Regions from separate parts of the Homo sapiens genome. Here regions 2, 3, 4 and 5 are each linked to region 1. The links are contacts of gene promoters, found by promoter capture Hi-C in blood cells and fetal thymus (Javierre and others, 2016). All regions are on one chromosome and are shown on one strand. The core of a region is centred on a gene start or on the middle of the fragment in contact, and the rest is flanking DNA. Distances in the headings are between cores, read along the strand shown.

Region 1 (2,721 bases), core at 134-2,633:
TTGAATGTATAACCAGTTCCCATAATTACTACAATATTACTATTATCTTAGTCTCATTGCCAAAAACCCAGCTGCAGGCTAACTATGCAAGAATGAGACACTGTTGAAATGACTCGGAAAAAAAAAAAAAAAGAAACTTTACCCTCACTGAATTTAGCTACAAAATTCTGCAATTAAATGAAACCAATTCACACACACACACACACACACACACACACACACACACACCCCTTCTTCTAAGAAAGAACAGGATGCCGCTACACAAGGAACCCAGAGAGAAATTCGGCAAACAGTTGCGCCTAAGCCACCGCGGCAGAGTCGGGGGCTGGGGGCGGGGAAGAGGAGAAAACTTGGGAAGCACAATGACTCCAGTGAGGACTTCAGTGAGGGCTCCAGGGCTCCCGCCAAGAAGCCCACGGGGCTCTACCAAACTTGAGGGTTTGCGTTCGGGGACACGGCGGGCTTGGGGCTCGGGCACCGGCAGGCCGCTCGGAGCCCACCCTTGGCTGCCCGCGAGGCCGCGCCCGGGGGACGGAGGTCGGGCCGTCGCGAGCCTCCCTCTCGCGTCCGGGCGAACCCTGCCGACGTCCCTGCGATTTCCCTCTTCCTCCTCCTGCCTCTCCCCTTTTGTTTTTCAGGCATTGGGTCCGCTCCGGCGGAGGCCGGCCCGTCCTCCCCGCGCCTCTGTCCGCCCTGCGCGCCCCCAGAGCCCCGGCCTCCTCGTCTTCCTCAGGCCCCTCGGCCTCTCCGCGCGCCCGGCCTTTTCGAAAGCCGCCCCCCCCTTCCTCCTCACGTCTCCCGGACTCCCCACGTCCCCCAGCCTTTCTGTCTTCCCCGAACCCCTTGGCCTCCCCGCGCGCCCCCAAAACCCCCGACCTCCTCGAGCTCCCGGCCTCCCCACGTCCCTCAGCCTCCCAGTCTTCCCCAAGCCTCCCGACCACCCAGCGCCCCGAACCCCCGCCTCCCAGCGCGCCCCCTGACCTCCTTAAGCCTCTCGGCCTCCGCGAGGGCCCCCAACCTCCTCACGGCCACCGGCCTCCCCTCCTCCCAGAACCCGGGCCGGGGGCGCGGGAGGGGCCGGTCTCCGCCGCATCCGCCCCGGGACTGGTTGGGCGGCCCCGCTCTGCCCCTCCGCCCTCAGGGCCGCGGCCCAGCCCACGACCGCTGCACAGAAGGAGCCCGCCCAGCCCCCGACCCGCGCCCCGCGCCCGGCGCCCCGCACTCACTCGGACCGCGGCTCGGCGCCGTGAAGCGAAGGCAGACGACGACGGGGCGGCGCTGGGCGACAGCAGCCGCGCTTCCTCCCACGCCTCACGCCGCGGGCTCACAGTGGTCCGGGACCGGCGGCGGCGGCGGCGGCGCGGGCTCGCGCCCTCGAGGCCGTGCTGCGTCGGCGCGGGCCCGCGCGCGTGCGCGGCAGCCGGCTGAGGCGCGCGTCCTCTCTCGGCAGCGCACGCCCGACCCGGTCTCAGTCCGGAGTTCCCGCCTCTCGGGGGGACTGGGCATGCGCGCCGCCCCCGCGCATGCCCAGCGCGCCGCTAGGCTCTGCTCGCGTAATTTGTCCTGTAGTGACCGCGCCGGGGTTTCGGGGTGGCCCGAGGCTGCGCGCGGGCGTGGCGGCCGGACGAGGAAAGCCCTGGTCTCGGGGGTGGCCGGGGTCGCCCCGCCGAGCGGACATCCTGGGGTCCCACCTGCCTCGCTCTCCGCCAGCGGGATTAGACGGACTTCGGGAAAGTCCTCCCCATCTCCTTCCCTGCCCCCAAATCCCGAAGGGGTCCCCTCTGGAGAACCTCCCTCCTGAGCGGCCCTGCGGCCCCGCCCCCAGAGTTGGACGCCCGCTGTCGGGCACCCGCTGCGGGCCCCGGGCCTTGCAGTGCACTCTCCAGGCACCACACCGACCCTAACGAGCGGTTCCTGGGCCCTTTTTGCAGACAAGGAAACTGAGGCTCAGAGATTCTTTTCATGGCATTATAGCTAAGTTGGGCTGGGCCATTATTTGATTTTGGAAGATGAAAAATCATGAAAGGGACTTAGAAGTCCACTGGAGGTAGACAGGTTACCTAAATGAACGCCAGCAGGGAACGAGCCCTGCAATCCCTCCCGAGGGCTACAGACCTGAGACGGGCTCCAGGAAAAGGAGGGAAGGCTCGCCCCGACACCGACCCGGGCTTCCGCGGTGTGAGCCAGTTTCAGCGAGGAGCTAGTTGGTTATGACCGGAACGTGCCGTAGGTGGGGTGGGGGAAATAGCAAAAGGCGAGGTTGGAGGGATTGAAAAATGCAGACGGCTGCGTGGGGCTTGCTTAGGTGCCTGGAGTTTATTCTTTAGGCAACAGGGAACCTTTGGAGGGCTTTAAGCAGGAAGTGATAACTGATTTGTGTTATTTAAAAAAAAAAAAAAGTCACTCTGGCAACCTTGTGGTCGGAAATGAAACCAGAAGAACCCTCAAGGCTGCAACTTTCATTTTTATGGTGTCATTTTGATGCTAACCACAAGCCAGGAAGCAGGACAGACAGGCACCGAGGCCTTTTGAAAGGTGAACACCCTGAAGCCCAGAGAGGTGACACACGTCATTGCATTAGGAGCTTTTATAAAAGTAAAAATGAAGTAAAATAAAAAGCTTTTGCTTATCAAGATTTTACCATATTTAAATGTTTGGGTTGTATTGTTCTTTAATGAGATGTATTAAGGTTGGTGTTTTTCTGGGTTTTGTTACTTTTTA
Region 2 (2,721 bases), core at 149-2,648, 410 kb after region 1:
TGTGGGGACCCAGGTCCCTTGGGCCTTGCATGCCTGGCTCCTGATCCTGTGGGCCCCATGCAGAAGTGGCCCCCAGTTCTTTCTGGGTGCTTGGCATGTCCAGTCTTCCTTGGGGGCTCCCCAGGCAATTTTGGCTAGACACCCAGCAGACGCTCCTTCCTCCAGGCCCCCCAACCTCCGGGTCCCTGAGGTCGGAGCCAGTTTTCCCCAAGACCACCCAAGCAGTGACTTTGGGTCCACCCACAGATGCCCTGGTCACTGTGTTGCTGGGAGTGCTTGGGTGAGAAGGAATGGCTGCGGGCGGGTCTTCCTTTCTTCATCCTCAGCATCCTCATCCATCACTGAGGATGCTTGTCTCTGCCTTACTCCCACTCACAGGACAGTCGAATATGTTCACACATCCACTGAGCCAGCACCTGCTGTGTACGGTGCCCATTGAGAACCAGGGAGCCGAGGGTGGAGCTGTGGCCGGTCTCTTGTCCTGCGTGGGGAGAGAGGCTGACAAGCTTTGCCAGAAGGGGGACAGATGATCCCTACTGTGTGTGGGGGACAGAGGACAGGTCTCGGTGGCTAGCAGGAGGAACAGGAGGATGCTGAACCTGAGATCCGAGTGGTAAGAAGGGGCCAGCACCGGACGATGTGGGGACAGAGCATGCTCCTGGCCTCCAGCACAGGCAGTGCAAGGGCTCGGAGGCAGGACTGTGCTTGGCAAGTTGCAGGAACAGCTGGGAGGCAGGTGAGGCTACAGCAGATGAGGAGAGGGGAGTGGTAGGAGGTCAGAGGGCAGGGAGCAGCTCGCGTGGGGCCTTTAGGGCGATAAGGATTTTTGGCTTTCCTGAGTGACGCGGGCACCACTGGAGGCTTTGAGCGGAGGGGGCTATGATCTGACTTAGGTCGAGGACACTGGTGGGGGCAGTGGTGGGGATACCCAGGATGCCAGATGGGTATCCCAGATTCTTGGTGACCCTCGGTAGCCCCTCTGGGCGGTGGCTTTAGGCATCTGGGCTCAGGTGTCACCATTTCACTTGTCGGCCACCCACGGCTGCTTCCTGCCCCATCTGGGGATTCCGGGGACTTTCCATTTCCTCACCTTGCACTTGATTCTGTGATGTGCCTGGACTGGGGATTGTGGAGGCCTGTCCGTGCCCTGAAGCACTTCTGAGAAGCCGGGGAGCAGTTCCCTGGGGTTTCCCCTGGGAAGTCCTGCCGTCCTCTTTCTGCTGCCACCCAGAGCCCGCCCTTTCCGGAGAGCAGTTCCCTGGGGTGTCCCCCTGGGAAGTCCTGCCCTCCTGCCTCTGGCCCTTGCTCAAGCCGCGCCCCCATCTGGATGCCCACTTCTTCCACTCTGCTCTGTTGGACCAATTAGGCCAACTCTGGGGATATGTGACCCCAGTGTTTGTGATCAAACGGGGCCCAGACTCATTGACATCCTGCGTGAACTACAGTTTTGGTAGAGGTGCAAGTGGATTCTGTGTGGCACAGAAGATGGCGAGTGGTGACGGCTGTGTTGCCTGCATGCCACCGACAGCCCGCCTCTTCTTTCCATCTTAATCCATCTTGCCAGCTCTCAAGGGCTGTAGGCACTTCGCCCTGAATCCTCCTCTGAGCCGGCTTTGCCTCCTGCTGTTCCCACTGAGCGAATTAAATAAGTCTTTGCCCTGTGCCCACTGTATGTGCAAGGTCATGCAGGTTATGCTTTGAACTTCCAAAAATGCGCTCAGAAATCTTTCCTGTCCTCTAGGGCCCATCTCTGATGCCACCTTCACCTTCTGGATTCTCTCCAGGGGAGGAGGTCAGGCCCTTGGGAGGTACCCTTTGCCCTCTCTGCTGGGGATCCTGGAGAGTCCCTCCCCAACTCCCCTGGCCACTGGGACCTCTCTTCCTCCCTGACCTGCCCAGCATCCTCCCTTGGCAGCCTGGCACAGCCCGGACAGAACCTAGAAGGTGTGGATTCTGCCTGCCTGCCCTGTGTCCCCACAGTCCACATGCTGGCCTGGACTCTCAGGCCTCCCCACCTCCAGTCCCTCTCCTGCCCTCTCCATTCCTTCACACACGTGGGCACAAAGCTGGGGCTTCTGTAAGGGTGCATCTGGTAGGACCTCAACCTCCCGTACCCAATGGGGTCTTGGGAGAACAGAAGTTGTGGGTGATGGTTAAGGTGTAGCCCTCTTCCCAACCTTGCACAGCCCCCTGGCTCAGTCCCTGAGGGTAAAATTCAGACAGAGCTGGAAATGACCCAAATGTCCATCAGCTGAGGATAAACGAAATGTGGCAGGCCCACAGAGTAGAACAAGCTTGCCCAGCCAGCAGCGCGGCCCAGGACGGCTTTGAATGTGGCCCAACACACATTCATAAACTTTCTATTTTTTTTTTTTTTTTGAGATGGAGTCTCACTCTGTTGCCCAGGCTGGAGTGCAGTGGTGGGATCTTGGCTCACTGCAACCTCCACCTCCTGGGTTTAAGTGATTCTCCTGCTTCAGCCTCCCAAGTAGATGGGATTACAGGTGCCCGCCACCACACCCAGCTAATTTTTGTATTTTTAGTAGAGATGGGGTTTTGCCATGTTGGCCAGGCTGGTTTCAAACTCCTGACCTCAAGTGATCCACCTGCCTCAGCCTCCCAAAGTGGTAAGATGACAGGCGTGAGCCACCGTGCCTGGCCAAATTTGTAAACTTTCTTAAAACATCATGAGGTTTTTTGTTGTTGTTGTTGTTCATCAGC
Region 3 (2,721 bases), core at 138-2,637, 380 kb after region 1:
CCCGTCGCTCCTTGACTTGTTCACTGACCCCTCCCTGATGTGGCCGGAGGACGGGGCCTGGTATCACCTTGTCCTGTGCAGGCCTGACACGTAGAAGGTGTTTGGCTGATGCTTGCTAGTATAGGAATAAGCTAGTTCTCTAACCTGGAGTTCCTCCCTGTGAGGTTTTGTTTGCAAGAAAAAATCTGCTGCTAAGCCAGCTGTGGAGGCACATGCCACAGTCCTAGCTACTCTGGAGGCTGAGGCAGGAGGAGCGCTTGAGCCCGGGAGTTTAAGGCTGCAGTGAGCCATGCTCGCACCGCTGCACTCCAGCCTGGGCAACAGAGCCAGACCCTGTCTCTTAAACAAACAAACAAACAAACAAACAAACACCCTGCTGCTAAAACATGTGGAAAGTGTGATGGACGCCACACTGGCAGTTTTGCTTCCTCAGCCAGCACCTCCCACATGCTCCCAGGGTCAGAGGTCAGGGATCAGGCTGGCTCCTGGTAGGGGGCTCTGTGTGCCCTGGCAAGTCGCCCCTCCCTGGGCCAGGAGCGAGGTGAGGGTGTCCACAGCAACAGGCTGTGTTTGGACACAAGCGGGGTGGGGCTGCACCACACGGGGCTCTTCCTGTGCCTTATAAATCAGCTCCCAAGAGCATTCCCCAAAAGGAGTTTCAGCTGCTCCCGAGCCCAGGACAGCAGGCTGGTCTCCCCTCCGGTGAGAAATCTCCTCTCCCGTCTACCACCCCAGGAGTTCCCCAGAGAGGCTCGGTTATCCTCCAAGGAGGGGATACTCGCTGCCTTGCCGAGATCGGAATCCACTTTTGCCTGTTCTCTAAGCCCTGCTGGAGATGTGGGAGTGCCCCTGCCCCACAGCCTGTTCCGAACTCACTTGGGCCATCGCCCAGCTCCAGCCTGTCTCTCAGTGTGAACCCCGAGAGCATCTTCTGCACCCAGGTGGATGGGTGGCTAACAGCATGGGCATCAGGGGCTCCTGGCTTTGCTTCCCCGCGCCTGCATTTCCTTGCTGTTTGGCTTTGGGTGATCTGCAGGAAGGAGGACTGCCACCGCCATGGCACGCGCCTGGCCTCTCCACTGGCACCTTCCTGTTGTTCCTTCCCTTGTTCGCCAACCCCTCCCTGATGTGGCCGGAGGACAGGGTCTGGTGTCGCCTTGTCCTGGCACAGGCCTGGCAGGCAGAAGGTGTCTGACTGATGCTTGCTGGATAGAGGAATAAACTAGAGCTAGATCTTGGGGCTCCCTGTGGGGTTTTGTTTGCAAGAAGAAATCCCCTTCTCTGCAGCTCCCTGGGGCTCTGTCATTGCAGAGGGGGACTGGGATGACTGGGGAGGCACGCGCCCTGCTGAGGGCAGCCACTTCTCCAGCCCAGCAGGCTGTAATCCGACATCCACAGGGATTATCCTGGTAACTGGTGGTGCATGGCCCCTGTGCTGAGAGGGCTGCAGTGTGCACGCCCCGTTTAGAGCATCGTATGGGTTCAGCATGTGTCCGCGGATGGGTGCTTGAGGAGCACCTGTCAGACGGGTGCCTGTCAGGCCATATTTTTGGCAATGGTAGCTTCCCGGGAATGAGGGATTTTTCCTGGGATAAAGGCCCCCGTGGAGGGTGGTCAGCAGCCCTGAGGACGTGGTATGAGACCCACAGCCTTCCTTGACTCCAGAGCGGCCAGGAAGCTGGGACTCCAGCAAGCTGTGCTGCCCCCACCAGTGCCTGTGTTCCCTGCATCTCACATGGAGCCTCACTCAACTCCTGTCCCTGAGTGCCCACTGGTGGGGACGAGGGAGATGGCAACTGTGGATGGATCCCAGGCCAGTGGAGAAGACAGACCCACACGCCAGGAGGATGAGGGGTTGTCAGGTTCGGGGGGCCTGGAGGCTGCCTCCTGCAGGCCCTGTCCCACGTGAGAGGGTCGGGACCTCAGGTTCCTCAGCCTGGACCTGCCGTGTCTTGGGCAGCATCCAGTGTTTGGGCCCCACGACCTCCAGGGAGGGTCACTTGTTCTGTGGCTGCCCTCTGTCCCCCACCAGGCTCCCCATGGAGGGCTCAGCATGCAGGCTCAGCACACATCAGGCATGGAGGCCCTGGCCCCACGTTCCCTGCTGCTGGGCAGTGCACAGCCTGCCTGAGCCTGGGTCCCTGGGTGGGGCCAGCTGCCCCCGCCCTCTTCTGGGCCTGGTGGGGACATTTGGACCCTCTGCATTGTTGCATCCCTAGATTCAGCCCTGCTCTGCTCCCTGTGGGGACACCAATCTCCCTTCCTCAGCCTCCCAACAGGCCTCATCTGCTGAGGAACGGGAGGCGTGGGGCCCAGGCACCAGGCCCGTCTCTTGTCCCTTCCCAGAACATCTTCTGCCTCCTCCCCTTCTCATCTTCCCCTTCACCTCCTCCCTCCTTTCTCCCTCCCTCTCTCTCTTTCCCTTCCCCCTCCCTCCCTCTTTTTCCCTTCTCCCTCCTCCCCTTCTTCCTTCTGTTCCTCGCTCTCCTCCCCCTGTCTCCTCTTTGCCTTCCTCATCATCTCTCCTCTCTCGTCCTCAGCTCAGGGACCTTCACTGAATCTGGAAAAAACAGGAGAAACAGCCTCATCACAAATTCTCCAAATTGTTCTTGGATTGAGGGTTGGGAACTTCAATGCCAGAAACAGTGTCATTTTCCTGGTTTGGCAAGGGTCTCTGAGCCCTGTGGGCCCCTCCAGGGTCTAAGAGGTCCCCAGAAAACA
Region 4 (2,721 bases), core at 60-2,559, 340 kb before region 1:
TCTCTACAAAAAAATACAAAAAGTTAGCTGAGTATGGTGGTGTGCACCTGTATTCCAAGCTACTCAGGAGGCTGACGTGGGAGGACGGCTTGAGCCTGGAAGACAGAGGTTGTAGTGAGCCAAGATCGTGCCATTGCACTCCAGCCTGGGTGACAGAGCCAGACCATTATGTACGCCCCTCCCCCCGCACACATTAAGTCAGGGCAGCAATGGTGGAAGCAGCTAATGAACACAAAATGCTGTCCTACAGGGTTCGAATGCTTTGCATGGGAGAGTCTCATGATCCTTCTTATCTGTTTCTTCAACCAGTGGTGACTTATCCATTTGCTCTTTTATCAATTATGGAGCACCTATTATGTACGAGACACTTGGTGCTTGGATACAAGGAGGAAGACCTGTTTTTACCCGCAGTCTACAATGGGAAAAGCATACACAGGACCCTATAATACACTGGAATAAATCACGTAGTAGAAAAGTACATAGATAAGACAGCAATGCATTCTGTCTCAGAGAGGGTCAGAAAGACTTCACAGAGAGAATTTGTCTGAATTTGGCCTATACTGTAAAAGTAGGCTGGCTTCAACTGTGAAAGCCACACCTAGTTGATCTTTATTTGGCAGGACTTGGCAAGAGGGATAAGAGATTTTTAAGAAGGAGAATGACAAAATCTAGAGAGATATTCTAGAAAGATGGCTCTTGGCGGCAATGTGGAGGCTGAATGGAAGGGCAGGGGAACAGACAAGAGGCAGATAAACCATCTAAGAGGCCATCTTCAGAGGAGAGGTGATGGTGGATGTGCAGGTGAACGGACCAACCTGAGACCTGATGAGAGATGGAAGGTGTGTGGTTGTTTGCATGTGTGTAGGGGATTGGGAACAGACATGCAAGTGCATGGTGTTGTCACTGACTGTGGAAGCAAACAAGGAAAGCAGACCGTTCTTGCCAATGGCAGACAGTTGGAGATCAGAGCTCAGGGCGGGGTTCTATAAAATCAACACAGATTTGGGAGGCATCAAATACTTGAATCTATGAGAATGAGAAGAACTACCAGAGTGAAAAAGTATTTTTTAATAAAACAAGTGGGTAGCACTTTGGGAGATGACCACACTCAAGGGTGGCAGGGAACAAAAGCCTGAGCAGAGGTCTTGGCAGGAGAGGAGTGAGTGAGGAAGCTCTGGGCCAGAGCAGGGGGTCTCAAGGGGGAGTTAGGACTGAGGGGAAAGCAGGGGCTCTGGCAATTAGGAGACCTTGAAGGGCTGTTACAGCAGAGAGAGTTCCAAACAGCTGGAGCACTGGAATGCTCTGAGCTGGCGCTGAGTGCAGCTGCCATGTGAGGAGGTGGCCCCATCAGGGATGGGCTGCTCTTTCAGGAAGTACAATGGGGACAGGAGGAGGCATGAGGACAGTGAAAGGCAGATGCAGGATCAAAGACAGGCTCCTCTTCTTTTCAAAAATGATTTAAGGCCAGGTGTGGTGGCTCACGCCTGTAACCCCAGCACTTTGGGAGACCGAGGTAGGAGGATGGCTTGAAGCAGGAATTTGAGACCAGCTTGGGCAACACAGTAAGACACTGTCTCTACAAAAAAATAAAGAATTAGCTGGGCGTGGTGGTATACAACTGTAATCCCAGCTACTTGGGAGGCGGAGGCAGGAAGATCACTTGAGCTCAGGAGTTGGAGGTTATAGTGAGCTGTGATGGAGTCACTGCATTCCAGCCTGGGTGACAGAGACAGACCCTGTCTCAAAAAAAAAAAAATTAATAATTAAAAAATACTGTATACAGGAGAGCAATTTGTGTATTGGAATCAGGGGAGATGAAAAGATTACTTTAGACTTTATCAACTAGAGTAGGTGTTGACAAATAGTCCCACTAAAATATCCACTTGGTAGGACACCATTTTCTTGCCTCTAGCATATGGAACTTCTCCACTTTGGGGCAAAACTGAGGCTTGTCATGGAAAGCCAGAGGCCCGGTGAAGCAGGTAAGTGAGAGAACCCCATTTGGTTGGGATGTGAAGTTACACTACAGCACCAGTCACAGGCCTTCTCAAAAACAAGTTAAAGGGTTTATGCATATGAATCAATGCCACTTACAAAGGAATCACCAACAGGAGTTGTGTCCAACCGTCCTTCAGAAGTCAATGTCCAGTTGGTCAACTGGAACATCCCCTGGACATCGTATGTCTCTGGGTATGATGCTGAGAAGGATTCAGCATTATTTATGTTGTATTCCTGACTGGAGATGCAAAATCTCAATCTCATCAGGAAGAAACAAATGTTTATAGGATATCCCTCAATCCAACTTTAAGAATACTCTATAAAATCACTGAGCCTATGTTTGTCAAAAATGTCAATGTCATGAAAGATAAAAAAAGGCTGAGGAGCTGTTTCAGATGAAAGGAGGCTGAAGAAAGCAACACCACGTGCAAAGTGTAATCCTGGTCTGGCTCTCACAGGCGACGGAAAAGTGCTACAGAGACAACCGACGACCCTGGAACGTGCCCTGCAGAGTGGGACAGTGCATTACATCATGTTAAAGTTCCAGAATGTGGTGATTGTGTGGTGGTTATGTAGGACAATGGCCTTGTTATGAGAAATATAAATGGAAATCTTAAAGGGGAAGAGGGCATGAGATACACAGCCATTCTCAAGCTGCTCGACAGCAGGAAGTGATGTGTGTACACACATAGACAATGGAGCAAGGTGACAATGTGCTGACAT
Region 5 (2,721 bases), core at 163-2,662, 260 kb after region 1:
AGCACGTGAACTTTTGATTCGCTCTGGGAAAAAAGTCTTTGTTGGTATTTTTATTGAGATTCCATTAATGTTATAAACTAGCCTGGGGGGAGCCAATATCCTCAGGCTGCTGAGTCGTTCTCTCCAAGAACAACAGCGCTCCTGCACCTGTCCAAGTCCACCCTGACGCCTTCGGGGAGAACTTAAAAGCAGTCCTTCCATGGTCTTCCACATTGTTTTCTCCTAATTAACCTTTGTCATGGTCACTGCAAATAGGATTTCCTCTGCCCTTATGTTTTCTAACTGGCTAGATCATGACAGCTGTTAAGTGTTGTTTATGAAGTCAGCTATAATTTACATGCAGTGAGAAGGTACTACCCAGACAGTTTCAACAAATTCCTATCAAGACAGAACCCGTCTATCATGCTGGAAAGGCCCCTGTGTTCCTTCCCATCTAATTAAGGCTATTCATTCTTATATTTTCAGTTTATAATCTAATTCTTTTGTTGTCTGAGCGAGAATGGACAAAAAAAAGAATATAACCAAATTAACAAGTCTACCAAACCATCACCAAAATATGCATAGCTGCCAACTTAAAGATGGATTGTATTTCCAAAGTTTATGGACACATGTTTGGATGTGATGGTCCATTTCCCGAGAGACAACAGTGGACACCTCGAGGCCCTCTGGTCCTCCTCACCCACAGCCCTTGCTGGGACTGGAACAAGGGCCCATGTGGTGCATATTTCCTGAACACGAAGACTCTGAGGCAGTTTGAAATCCTTCCCTTCACGGCCTCCCCCAGTCACTTCATCTCTAGGGCCTCACAAGAAATGAAAGGAAAGCAGCTCTGAGAAGAGAAGGGAGGAGTGTGCAGGGAGGGGCTGGGTGCCAGCGCGGGGCGTGTTCTCACACTGCGCGGGGGCAATCAGATACCATAAAACCAGTCCAACGCCCAGCAAACTACAGCCGTGAGGTCACTTTCTTAGAGCAAGCAAATTGTTTTCTGTAAGGAAACTATTTTATATAAGCACGAGAGCATTATCTGAAAAAAGGAAAATGATTCTTCTCTAGTACACAGCTGAAAACTCCCTACTGAGGCATGACGTCACACTGAACCCATTTAAGGGAGGTCACGCTCCTCCTTCCCCAGCACAGGCAATCCTGTACCCCTGAGAGCTGCTGTCGCCTCAGCTGCTTAAAATGCGGAGAAGCTCAAAAGTTAAGCTGTGACCTGTTCTAGTATCTCATATTCAAAAGAACAGTGAAACTTTTCGGGCAGATTTTCCCCAGCATGGAAAAGCAAGCTTCCCTTTGGAATCTGTTCCAGCGACTGTCGGGGCATTCGGTGACAACAATTTTGTTATGATTCGCAGATGCACTCAGACAAGCGAAACTACAATTGTTCCAATCAACAACTTCCTCTATTGTCCTGTTTCTAATTTAAGGGTAACTGATGCCAAAACACATGACTTCCTACAATTTGCTGAGTGGAAAAGCTGGCTGTAAACTTAAATTTCACCAAAAAGGTAACTGGAGAGTTGCTGCTGACACACACCTCAAGCTTGGGTGAAACTTTCAGATCTACAGCACAGTCCCAGCGTTCAACAGCGACAGGAGAATTCCGTGAGCCATGCTTCCTGGGAAGCGGTCTAGCGAGTCCGGACAACACGCGTCCGCACGGTGACCACAAACGTGTGCTGCCCCTTTCACAGCCCCTACACACGAAGCGCATGTACACGCACGCATGGGCCTGACACCATGGGCTGCAGACACCGCTTGTGGGCGGCACATGCTGATGAGGGCCGGCTCATGAGAACGGCTGTGTGTTTTCTGCACCCACCACCCAGAAACAGGCATGAGTAGGGGCACCCACAGTCAGACAAACCCACCACCACCATCAGCCTCGGACGGCCCCGTTCAATCTTTACCAATGCAGTTCCCCCAGTCACGGCCGGCACGTGTCTTCCTGCCTCTCCAGATGGCCACGGAGAGGAACACTAACAGCAGCATTGGCAATTCTGCGTCTAAGGCTATTTCCTGAAAAGCATGTGGGAAATCCCACTGACTTCCAGCATGAAACCAGTGTGTGTCAAGGGAAGAAGACGACAAGCCACAAACGGGGTAAAAGTATTCGCAAAAGACATATCTGATAAAAGACTGGCATCCATAATATACAAAGAGTCCTTAAAACTCAACGAAAAGAAAATGAGCTCTTCTACAAGTTCCTCCCCACATGTATTCAGTGCATGCCTGGCTGGGCAGGAAGTGTGGGGCAAGCAGTGTGTGCTGGAAGGGCGGAAATTTCCAAAACAGATCTAACAAGAGGGCCCAGATGTTGAAGTGCCTTATTCCCACAAATGTCCGCCATCACTCTACCATTAAGATACTGGAAATGAGGAAATGAAGTATTAATTTTCTAACAATTTGTGGTACCCTGGTCTGGCAAGCTGTCTTGAGCTATACTGGACTCAGAGTAGGCACATAGTCAAGCAACACGACACAGCAAGGGAGCCCCAGGACAGCGGTGGGCAGGTCCCTGAACTGCGGGGGCTGGCAGGACGGGGCAGGTGACCTGCCTGTGAACGGCCAAATCTGTGTGCGCATATAGCAAGTGCTGCATTCACCACAAGCCAGGAGACTTCCGTGACACTTCCACTGCCTTCCTTGGACTCTGGCCTTCCCTTGGCCTCAGCAGCTTCACTGCTGTCCTTCAGGAATGATACCGGGGCAGCAGCTCTG

The links. Contacts are between HindIII fragments. The CHiCAGO score rates a contact against its expected background, and 5 or more counts as called.
Region 2: a fragment that was not itself captured here is called in contact with the fragment with the promoter of PTK2 in region 1 in 3 of 17 cell types (activated CD4 T cells, non-activated CD4 T cells and naive CD4 T cells); the score reaches 8.2 in activated CD4 T cells.
Region 3: a fragment that was not itself captured here is called in contact with the fragment with the promoter of PTK2 in region 1 in 2 of 17 cell types (monocytes and naive CD4 T cells); the score reaches 6.8 in monocytes.
Region 4: a fragment that was not itself captured here is called in contact with the fragment with the promoter of PTK2 in region 1 in 1 of 17 cell types (erythroblasts); the score reaches 5.7 in erythroblasts.
Region 5: a contact is called between a fragment that was not itself captured here and the fragment with the promoter of PTK2 in region 1, in 6 of 17 cell types (total B cells, naive B cells, naive CD4 T cells and 3 more). The highest score is 15.2, in total B cells.

The regions. Positions count from the first base shown.
Region 1 is chr8:140,999,899-141,002,619 of GRCh38, forward strand. It overlaps PTK2 (protein tyrosine kinase 2), which reads right to left and starts at 1,384. Exons shown (of 36, transcript NM_001352702.2): 1 at 1,227-1,384. RefSeq lists silencers at 1,049-1,378, 1,399-1,818. The HindIII fragment of the contact is 6,005 bases long and covers 1-2,617 here.
Region 2 is chr8:141,405,206-141,407,926 of GRCh38, forward strand. All of the region lies in intron 1 of PTP4A3 (protein tyrosine phosphatase 4A3), which reads left to right. Among named protein-coding and RNA genes, the nearest start is that of ASTILCS, 14 kb to the left of the region's middle. RefSeq lists an enhancer at 2,102-2,602. The HindIII fragment of the contact is 1,788 bases long and covers 505-2,292 here.
Region 3 is chr8:141,383,017-141,385,737 of GRCh38, forward strand. No RefSeq gene overlaps it. Among named protein-coding and RNA genes, the nearest start is that of PTP4A3, 7.6 kb to the right of the region's middle. RefSeq lists an enhancer at 1,107-1,724. The HindIII fragment of the contact is 5,174 bases long and covers 1-2,721 here.
Region 4 is chr8:140,660,554-140,663,274 of GRCh38, forward strand. All of the region lies in intron 35 of PTK2 (protein tyrosine kinase 2), which reads right to left. Among named protein-coding and RNA genes, the nearest start is that of AGO2, 26 kb to the left of the region's middle. The HindIII fragment of the contact is 4,196 bases long and covers 1-2,721 here.
Region 5 is chr8:141,264,538-141,267,258 of GRCh38, forward strand. The region is part of intron 1 of SLC45A4 (solute carrier family 45 member 4); the gene reads right to left. Among named protein-coding and RNA genes, the nearest start is that of SLC45A4-AS1, 11 kb to the left of the region's middle. The HindIII fragment of the contact is 257 bases long and covers 1,285-1,541 here.